Linked DNA regions of Homo sapiens: region 1 is linked to region 2. The links are contacts of gene promoters, found by promoter capture Hi-C in blood cells and fetal thymus (Javierre and others, 2016). All regions are on one chromosome and are shown on one strand. Each heading gives the region's core, a stretch centred on a gene start or on the middle of the fragment in contact. The rest is flanking DNA. Distances are from core to core; before and after follow the strand shown. Region 1 holds the start of MDN1 (midasin AAA ATPase 1). Region 2 holds the start of RARS2 (arginyl-tRNA synthetase 2, mitochondrial).

Region 1 (4,330 bases), core at 849-3,348, 2.2 Mb after region 2:
TCAACAATAGTAGAGGGTAACAACCTGTGGTCATTGCAGGCAGTTTAGTGTTGCTGAAATAGCAAGCCCTGAGCAGAAAGTAAACAACCAGTCTGGGGCAGGGTTTCTTTCTTAATTTTGCACCACTGCCATTTACGACGGATAACTGTTGTAAGGGGTTGTCCCATACATAACAGAATGCTTAGCAGCGTCCCTGGCCTTGATGCACTAGATGCTAGTAGCACCCCCATAATGAATAGTTGTGATAACCATAAAGGTCTCCAGATTTGTCCCTGGGAGCAAAATTGGCCCCACTCCCCAGAACAATTGGGCTTGAGATACATCAAAAAAAATACTTCAGGGCAGGGCGCTGTGGCTCATGCCTGTAATCCCAGCACTTTAGGAGGCCAAGGCGGGTGGATCACCTGAGATCAGGGGTTTGAGACCAGCCTGACCCACACAGTGAAACCCTGTCTCTACTAAAAATACAAAATATTAGCCAGGCATGGTGGCGCACGCCTGTAATCCCAGTTACTCGGGAGGTTGAGACAGAAGAATCGCTTGAACTCGAGAGGCGGAGGTTGCAGTGAGCTGAGAGGGTGGGCCATTGCACTCCAGTCTGGACGACAGAGCGTGCCTCCGTCTCAAAAAAAAAAAAAAAAAAAAAAAAAAATTTAGGCCGGACACGGTGGCTCACTCCTACAATCCCTGCACTTTGGGAGGCCAAGGCGGGATGATCACTTGAGCCCAGGGGTTCCAGACCAGTCGGGGCAACAAAGGGGGACCTTACAACTACAAAAAAAAAATTTTTTTTTTAATTAGCCACACCTGGGACCCAAGTACCTGGGACCACACTCACCTGTCCCGTGGCTCACGCCTGTAATCCCAGCACTTTGGGAGGCTGAGGCGGGTGGATCACGAGGTCAAGAGATCGAGACCATCCTGGCCAACATGGTGAAACCCCGTCTCTACTAAAAATACAAAAAGTAGCTAGGCATGGTGGCGCTCGCCTGTAATCCCAGCTACTGAGAGGGTGAGGCAGGAGAATCGCCTGAACCCGGGAGGCGGAGGGTGCAGTAAGCCGAGATCGCGCCACTGCACTCCAGCCTGGCGACACAGCGAGACTCCGTCTCAAAAAAAAAAAAAAAGTGTCTTCAACTCAGATAGAAGGAGTCAATGAGAAGGTTCTTAAAAGCCCGAAGACCTATTTCCCAGAAAACTCTAATTAACCTTATAATTTGTATAGTTAGTTACAGTGAGTATGAGCTGTCTTGCTCTGTACTTCAGCTGTTGTAAGTGTTTACGAACTGTCTCCAAAAACAGATGCAAATTTCCCTCATGGCAGAGATCGTAACGAATTTATCTATCCACTTTCTCACAGCGCCACACCGTTCCTTACGCACAGCAGGAATGCAATCAGTATTTGTCGATGGTTCCCCAAACTAACAGGAGTGGCTGCACTACGCACACTTAGGTGATACGTACACTTGTCAAAACGGCAGAAACGCAACCTCAATTTCAGAAAAACAAACCACATTCCTTTGGGAAGGCCACCTCTGCCACAAGCAGCCAAAGCGCTTGCATAGGGGTGAGAGGCGATGGGAAGGGTACTGGAAGGCTCCCCCAGATAAAAACAAAAGACTCCTTCCAATCGCCTCAAACACGCTCGGAAACCTCCACGACCTGCGCCAGCCCACAGGAGGGGGCCAGCTTGACCTGAGGCTGCACCACTCCCCACTTAAAGCGGCGAGTATCGGCGGGGGAGCGCAGGAAGCTTACTAGTGGGGCGACCCAGTCGTTCCGGCGCTTTCCCTCTCCCTTCACGTCTTACCTGCTTGGCCAAGAACCTGCCCAACTCACTGCGGCTCTTCTCGTTCTTGGCTGCGATTAACCGCAGCGGCGCGGCTGCCACCTCCAGCAAGAAGTGCTCCATGACCCAGGGCCCTCACCCCGAGCGGCCACCTGCGCTCCCTACTTCGCGGCCAGCGTCCCCAAGCCGCCGAGGTCCCAGTGCCCGAGCAGCCAGCAACTACGCCCGCAGGAAAGGCGTCCTCAGCTCCAGCGCCTACACCGGGAGAGGGGCACCACACGTGGGTGAGCACACGGCGTTTGACGTCATCAGCTCGGGACGGCTACGCTGCGCCCTCCCGGCCTCAGCCCCTCAGCGGCGGAAACGCCAGTCTTCGCTGTCCCGCCTTTTCCGGGAGGGAAATGGAAACAAAAATCTAGTCGGTTTGGATGCAGGAGTGATGGGGACTCGCGAACACAGCACGTGGTGGGACAGAAAGAAGAGTGCGTTAGGCCGGGGAGGAAAGAGGGGGCGTGTGAGTCTCAGCCCACCGTGCCTTGCTTCTGCCTTAACACACGGAAAGATCAGATGTGAGAGAAAAGCTGATTCTCGGCCGGGCGCGGTGGCGCATGTCTTTATCCCAGCATTTTGGGAGGCCGAGGAGGGCAGATCACTTGAGGTTAGCAGTTCGAGACCAGCCTGGGCAACATGGTGAAACCCCCTTCTCTACTAAAAATACAAAAATTAGCCGGGCGTGGTGGCGCGCGCCTGTAGTCCCAGCTACTCGGGAGGCTGAGGCAGGAGAATCGCTTGAACCCGGGAGACGGAGGTTACAGTAAGCCGAGATCGTGCAGCTGCACTCCAGCCGCGCGACACAGCAGACTTTTACTGTCTCAAAAAAAGAAAGAAAAGCTGATTCTCCCCTTCTTGTTAGCGGTGGCAGTTACCCCCTGTATAGGTAGGGGTCAGCAGTAACCTTAGTTCTTGCCTCCTCAGAAGAAATAATTCCACGAAGGGCATAAGGCAGGATAGACCTAGACAAGTTTCAGAATAGAAGTAAAAGTTTATCAAAAAGCTTTAGAACGGGACGGAAAGAAAAGGAGGAAAGTACAACTTGGAAGACTGCCAAGCAGGCGACTTGAGAAACCAAGTGCGCAGCTTGACCTGTTGACTTGAAGTTTTATATGTTGGCATACTTTGGGGAACTTGCATTGCTTCTCCCCACTCCTGAGATCTTACTGGGAAGCTACTGATCAGTTTCAGGTGTTTTCTATTAGGAGACTGCCTTTCGCTGGCCCCGGTGAACGTTAGAGAAACAGTTAAGAACCGCCTGACCATCGTTTGATTGTCACCCAATAGTCCTGGTATGTGTGGGGTGGGGAGCGCTCTCCTGTTCTGCTCATACCTAACTAGTTAACATTCTGCCCCAGCAATTCCCCTTGTAGGACTCTAGCCTGCGGAAATCCTCACTAAGTGTGACAAAGACACCCCTTGCAGTTTTCTTAATACAGATATTGGAAGAAAATGTTCAATTGGGAATATTAAACTATGGGGTGTAAGTTATAGCATATTCTGGAAGTCATAAAAAATAGTAGAGTCCATAACATTAAAAGTGCACTTGTGGGCTGGGCGCAGTGGCTCAAGGCAAGGCAGGCAGATCACGAGATAAGGAGTTGGAGACCAGTCTGGCCAACATGGTGAAACCCTGTCTCTACTAAAAATACAAAAATTAGGGCTGGGTGCCTTGGCTCACGCCTGTAATCCCAGCACTTTGGGAGGCCGAGGCGGGCAGATCACCTGAGGTCAGCAGTTTGAGACCAGCCTGACCAACATGGTAAAACCCTGTCTCTACTAAAAATACAAAAATTAGCCAGGTGTGGTGGTGCATGCCTGTAATCCCAGCTACTCAGGAGGCTGAAGCAGGAGAATCGCTTGAACTCAGGAGACGGAGGTTGTGGTGAGCCGAGATCGTGGGATTGCACTCCAGCCTAGGCAACAAGAGCGAAACTCCGTCTTTTTTTTTTTTTTTTAAGTGGGGCCAGGCGTGGTGGCTCACGCCTGTAATCCCAGCACTTTGGGAGGCCAAGGCGGGCAGATCACCCGAGGTCGGGAGTTTGAGACCAGTCTGGCCAACATGGTGAAACCTTGTCTCTACTAAAAATACAAAAAGCTGGGCATAGTGGTGGGCGCCTGTAATCCCACCTACTCAGGAGGCTGAGGCAGGAGAATAGCTCGAGCCCGGGAGGCGGAGGTTGCAGTGAGCGGACATCGTGCCAGTGCACTCCAGCCTGGGCGACAAGAGCGAAACTCTGTCTCAAAAAAAAGAAAAAGACAAAAAAAAAAATGTAGTTATGTAGTGATAATGCACCCTGGCAACTATTCTCAGGAATCTGTTGAAAGAGATGCGCCCTGAAAAAGGAGGATAAAACCAAGAAAGAAGACGACACGGGATCCAGGAAATAAGAGATTTAGCACAGAAAGAAAAAGTAAAATAACCCTGTCGATCGTAATCCTAATCCACGGGATTATTTTACTTTTAAGTGTTTAAAGTTAAGGGAAATC
Region 2 (4,624 bases), core at 1,010-3,509:
TAGCACAAATATATACTCAATATATTAGTTCTTGTTTCTCCAACTTATCTTTTTCTTTTTTTTGAGACAGGGACTCACTTTGTCCCCCAGGCTGAAGTGCAGCGGTGCAATCAAAGCTTGCTAGTTTCAGCCACCTGGGCCCAAACGATCCTCCCACCTCAGCTTCCCAAGCAGCTGGGACCACAGGTGTGTGCCACTACACCTAAGTTTTGTTTTTTATTTCTTTATAGAGATGGGGGTCTCCCTATGTTGCCCAGGCTGGTCTTGAACGTCTCAGTTCAAGGGATCCTCCCACCTCGGCCTCTCAAAGTTCTGGGATTACAAGTGTGAGCCACCATGCCTGGTCCAATTTACAGTCTTTACAAAGAACACAGCCTTTGCAAAACTAAACACAATTTGTTTCTCATCATGGCACTATCTTTACTTAAGGGCTAAGAATGGAAAACGTCCACCCTTACACACAGCTTAGATACTAAGGTCCAAAACTACCTTCCCTGATATGGTTTACTGTCTACATTAACATGAATTTATTATTTTTTGTCTTCATTAGCATAACTTTACTGTTCTAGAAGACTTCTGCCCAAATAACTTAATCATTCATTATAAGAACTTCATGAGAAATCTATTAGCTTTTCACGTTTTTTATTTTTATTTTTTGTTTACAGGGTCTCGCTCTGTCACCCACCCTGGAGTGCAGTGGCACAATCATAGCTCACTGTAGCTTCAAACTCGTGGGTCCGTCCAAGTGATCCTCCAGACTCAGCCTTTCAAGCAGCTAGGACTACAGAGGTGCACCATCATGCCTGGCTACTTTTTAAAAAAAATTTTGTTGAGACGGGGTCTACCTATGTTGTCCACGCTGGTCTCGAACTCCTGGGCTCAAGCCATCCTCCCACCTTGGCCTCCCAAAGTGCTGGGATTATAGGCATGAACCACATGCCAGGCCTATTAGTTCTTCCAATAGAAAACCTCAATAGTTTATGCCTTAAGGCTTCTTGCACTCTTTGCTTTTCCTATCAATCTTAAACCGCTGTATCAGATCAGAGTCCAACCCTAATCAAGCCATCTTCCTCCAACACCCTCCTACCCTCTCCCTCTGAAAGACCAGCCTTAAGCCATACCCATCAGTAAAATCTGACCTTGCTTTCCCAGTTTAATACACTACCAAAGCTCTCAGTGGTGTTCTTCCTTATCCCAGTGAGCAATAAATTCAGCTGTCTTAACAAAATGTCATGTTGGTGATATTTGGCGAATTATCACCGGACAGGGCAGTACATCTATAAACATAAAGACAAGGCAGAGGGATTTCCCCACAAATGTCTAGAAATACTGTAAAAATGAGCCAAGATAAATTATACACCAGGCTAATTACGTCCACTAGTACATCCATTAATCAGAAGGAAATGGGTTAGCCAAGACCACAATAGAAAGTTTCCTTGCAAGGGTGGCCAATGAGTCTTAAAAATTCTTTTTGATTAATTCCACATTTATACTGCAATTTTGCCCAGCGCGGTGGCTCAGGCCTGTAATCCCGGCTCTTAGGGAAGCAGAGGAGGGAGGACAGCTTGAGCCCAGGAGTTTGAGGCCTGCCTGGGCAATACGGCGAGACCCCGTTCTCCACAAAAAGGAAAAACAAAACAAAGCAATTATATTGCAATTTTGTAAGCCCTTCCTCACAACAGAGCTGTTCAAATACGACCCTGAACCAAGAAAAACTGAGTCTCAGATAGCTCTTATATCTTTGGGCGTTACCAAAAACAATTCTAGGGTAGGCTGCCTAAGTGACTGCAAGAGAAATAAGCAGCTTTAAAATGAGGTCCTTCTGAAGAACAATCCAGATCCATCATCAATGTCACTAAAGTGTAAAGAACACTAACTTCTATGGGGTCTAATCATGGTCTAATGACTTGCCGCCACCCAGGTAAAGCATTCATAGCTGTGGGGTGGGAAGGAGAGAAGAAAGCACCAGGTACCTTTCAAAGTTTACTTTTCACCGAGACAAACTGATCCCAGCCGACGCTCCACAGGACTTCTGAAGCTCCACCAGCTCCAGAGAAGGGGGAGGAGGTGGTAGAAACTAACAGGATTCCGTGGGACCCACCCTCCAGCTGACTGAGGACTGGCCCGCAGCGGTGAAAGGCCTTTGGGGTCCCTAGCTCCTCAGGGACTCCTCTGCGCGCTCCGGGATCCATACCTGGCAAGCAATAGCGCGGCGAAAGCCGCACGCCATGTCCACCTCTACGGAAGTGCGCCGCAGTCCGCCAGTTCCGGCCTCGCCCCACCTCCTTATACGACCCGCCTCCCCGCGCCGGAAACCCGCCCCGGAGGGTGATGCCAGCCAATCAAGGAGCCGTGTGGCTCGCCACTAACCTCTGCCCTGCAGCCGCGAGGGCGCGCGGGAAATCCCGAGTGCATCTGGAATACGCAGAGTCAGTAAGACCATGGCTACGTCCTCGATGTCTAAGGTATGTGGTGGCCGATGCGCACTGTGGCTCTACCGCTGCCTCATTCCCCTTTGAAGAAGGGATGAAGCCGAGGTTACGTAGGCATCCCTTCCCTGGCTGGAGAGGAGGGAGGGAGCGGCGTACTGAGCTGAGGCGTCCTTGCTCCAGATCAGTTGAGGCCAACTTTGCTTGGGGAGCGAGGACGCGGATCTGCCTTGTGGTATGGCTAGGAGGATTTTTAAGTTCTGGTTGGTGGAGGTCGGATGTCCTGATGATGTGGCCCAGTCTCTCATTTTTCCATCTCACAAATACTGTGCGCCAAGCACTCCGTTAGGTACCAAGATGCAGTGGTAAACAAAACAGATTCAGTTTCTGCAGTCAAGAAAGTCGGTAAACATAGATAAACTGACGATCACAAATTTTAAGTGTTAGCAAGGAAAAGAGTTCTAGGCAGACAACAGAAGAGTGGGAAGAACCTAATATAGGTTGTCGGGGGTTAGCGGAGGCTTTTTGGAGAAAGTGACCCTTTCGCTGAGACCTGAAAAATGAGTAGAAGTTAGGTTAAGGATTAGGGCGAGGAGGGCAGAGAGAACAGCATGTTTCTTCGGCCCAGAAGATAGAAATAAAATGGCATATTAGAGGAATTTAAAAATCATAATCAGAAAGTAGACAAAGAGTGGGAGCGTCATGAAAAATGAGAATGAAAAAGTAATGTGGATGCGGGTGTGTGTGGTGGGATATCTTATAGACCTCCTCATGTTGGCTACCTAGATGGCAAGAAATTGCAAGACATAGTGTAGTTGGTAAGAAGATAAGCCCTAGAGCTGTATTGTCCAATGTGTTAGTCACTCACCACATGTGGCTATTTAAATTTGAGTTAAAATAAAGTAAGATTAAATAAAAATTCAGTTTCTCCGTTGCACTAACCACATTTCAAGTGCTCAATCATCACATGTGGCTGCAGCTACCATTTTAGATAGTGCAGATATAGGACATTTCTATCATTACAGAAAGTTCTGTTGGACAGCGCTGTTCTGGACCACAAAAAGTAAGACCTTGAGTTCTATTGTAAGTGCAGCGGGAAGCCCCTGAAGTTAAGCTGTCTGAGAAAGCTGAAAAATGCACATGAAGAAGCTACATTCTCCCTATGTTAAAACAATGGATTGATGAAGAAGGCTATGTCATGGATCTGATTTTTTATTTTGATTAAAACGGTTTATGAGAAGCAGTGCTTTTAAAGACTACATCTCAAGGAAAAAGGACAAGCCCTGGGGTTTAAGGTTATGCTAGTAGAGATTCAAAGGTAGTATTTTTATTAGAAATGGTACTGGTTTTATTTTGTCCTGGTTATAATGTTCTGTAGGTTTTGAATGGTCTATCCCTTAATCCTGTTGATTGCATAAGCACCTCTTATTTTTATGTATCTTGCAGAAAGTAAGATTTTTCAGGAAAGCATTTTTGGTATTATAACAAATGTCTGTATTGGGATGAGACCTTACATGAATAAGAAGCTTTAAGAACTATTTCATGAATTTATGGAACTGCAAGCTTTTTTTCTTTTTCTTTTCTTTTTTTTCTTGAGACAGAGTCTTGCTCTGTTACCAGGCTGGAGTGCAGTGGCGCGATCTCGGCTCACTGCAACCTCCACCTCCCCGATTCAAGCTATTCTCCCACCTCAGCCTCCCGGGCAGTTGGGATTACAGACATGCCCCACTACACCCAGCTAATTTTGTATTTTTAGAAGAGACAGGGTTTCACCATGTTGGCCAGGCGGGTCTCGAACTCCTGACCTCGAGTGATCCGCCAGCCTCGGCCTCCCAAAGTGCTAGGATTACAGGCGTGAGCCACCACGCCCGGTCCTTAAACATATCAAAACATTTTAGTGTCTCTTTCATCGTGAAATTTTCTGGCTGTTGGCCTTCCTCTATCTCAAACACCATCACTTGACCAGCAGTTCCAAATGGTTAACCATGTTACTACCACTGCCCTATATTAAGATCCTTTCTGATCACTCCTCATGTCTTGCTCCTTTGAAGCTCCTTTTTCCTTTACTGAATTGCAGGTGGATTTGGAAAGGAGGTAATGACAGGTTTGTCATGGTATCACATGATTTTTCTAAATATGTATGTGATTTCGCACACTTCTGCTAGTTGCAGATATAAGAATATAAGGCACAGGGC

The links. Contacts are between HindIII fragments. The CHiCAGO score rates a contact against its expected background, and 5 or more counts as called.
Region 1: the fragment with the promoter of MDN1 here is called in contact with the fragment with the promoter of RARS2 in region 2 in 1 of 17 cell types (fetal thymus); the score reaches 6.8 in fetal thymus.

Annotation. Positions count from the first base shown.
Region 1 is chr6:89,817,696-89,822,025 of GRCh38, forward strand. It overlaps MDN1 (midasin AAA ATPase 1), which reads right to left and starts at 2,099. Exons shown (of 102, transcript NM_014611.3): 1 at 1,811-2,099. The coding sequence starts at 1,912. RefSeq lists enhancers at 1-556, 557-1,176, 1,753-2,142, 1,797-2,416, 2,417-3,036. The HindIII fragment of the contact is 1,090 bases long and covers 1,752-2,841 here.
Region 2 is chr6:87,587,728-87,592,351 of GRCh38, forward strand. It overlaps RARS2 (arginyl-tRNA synthetase 2, mitochondrial), which reads right to left and starts at 2,260. Exons shown (of 20, transcript NM_020320.5): 1 at 2,195-2,260. The coding sequence starts at 2,230. It overlaps ORC3 (origin recognition complex subunit 3), which reads left to right and starts at 2,408. Exons shown (of 20, transcript NM_012381.4): 1 at 2,408-2,465. The coding sequence starts at 2,442. RefSeq lists enhancers at 1,390-2,351, 2,115-2,344, 3,725-4,225, 4,226-4,624. The HindIII fragment of the contact is 3,839 bases long and covers 115-3,953 here.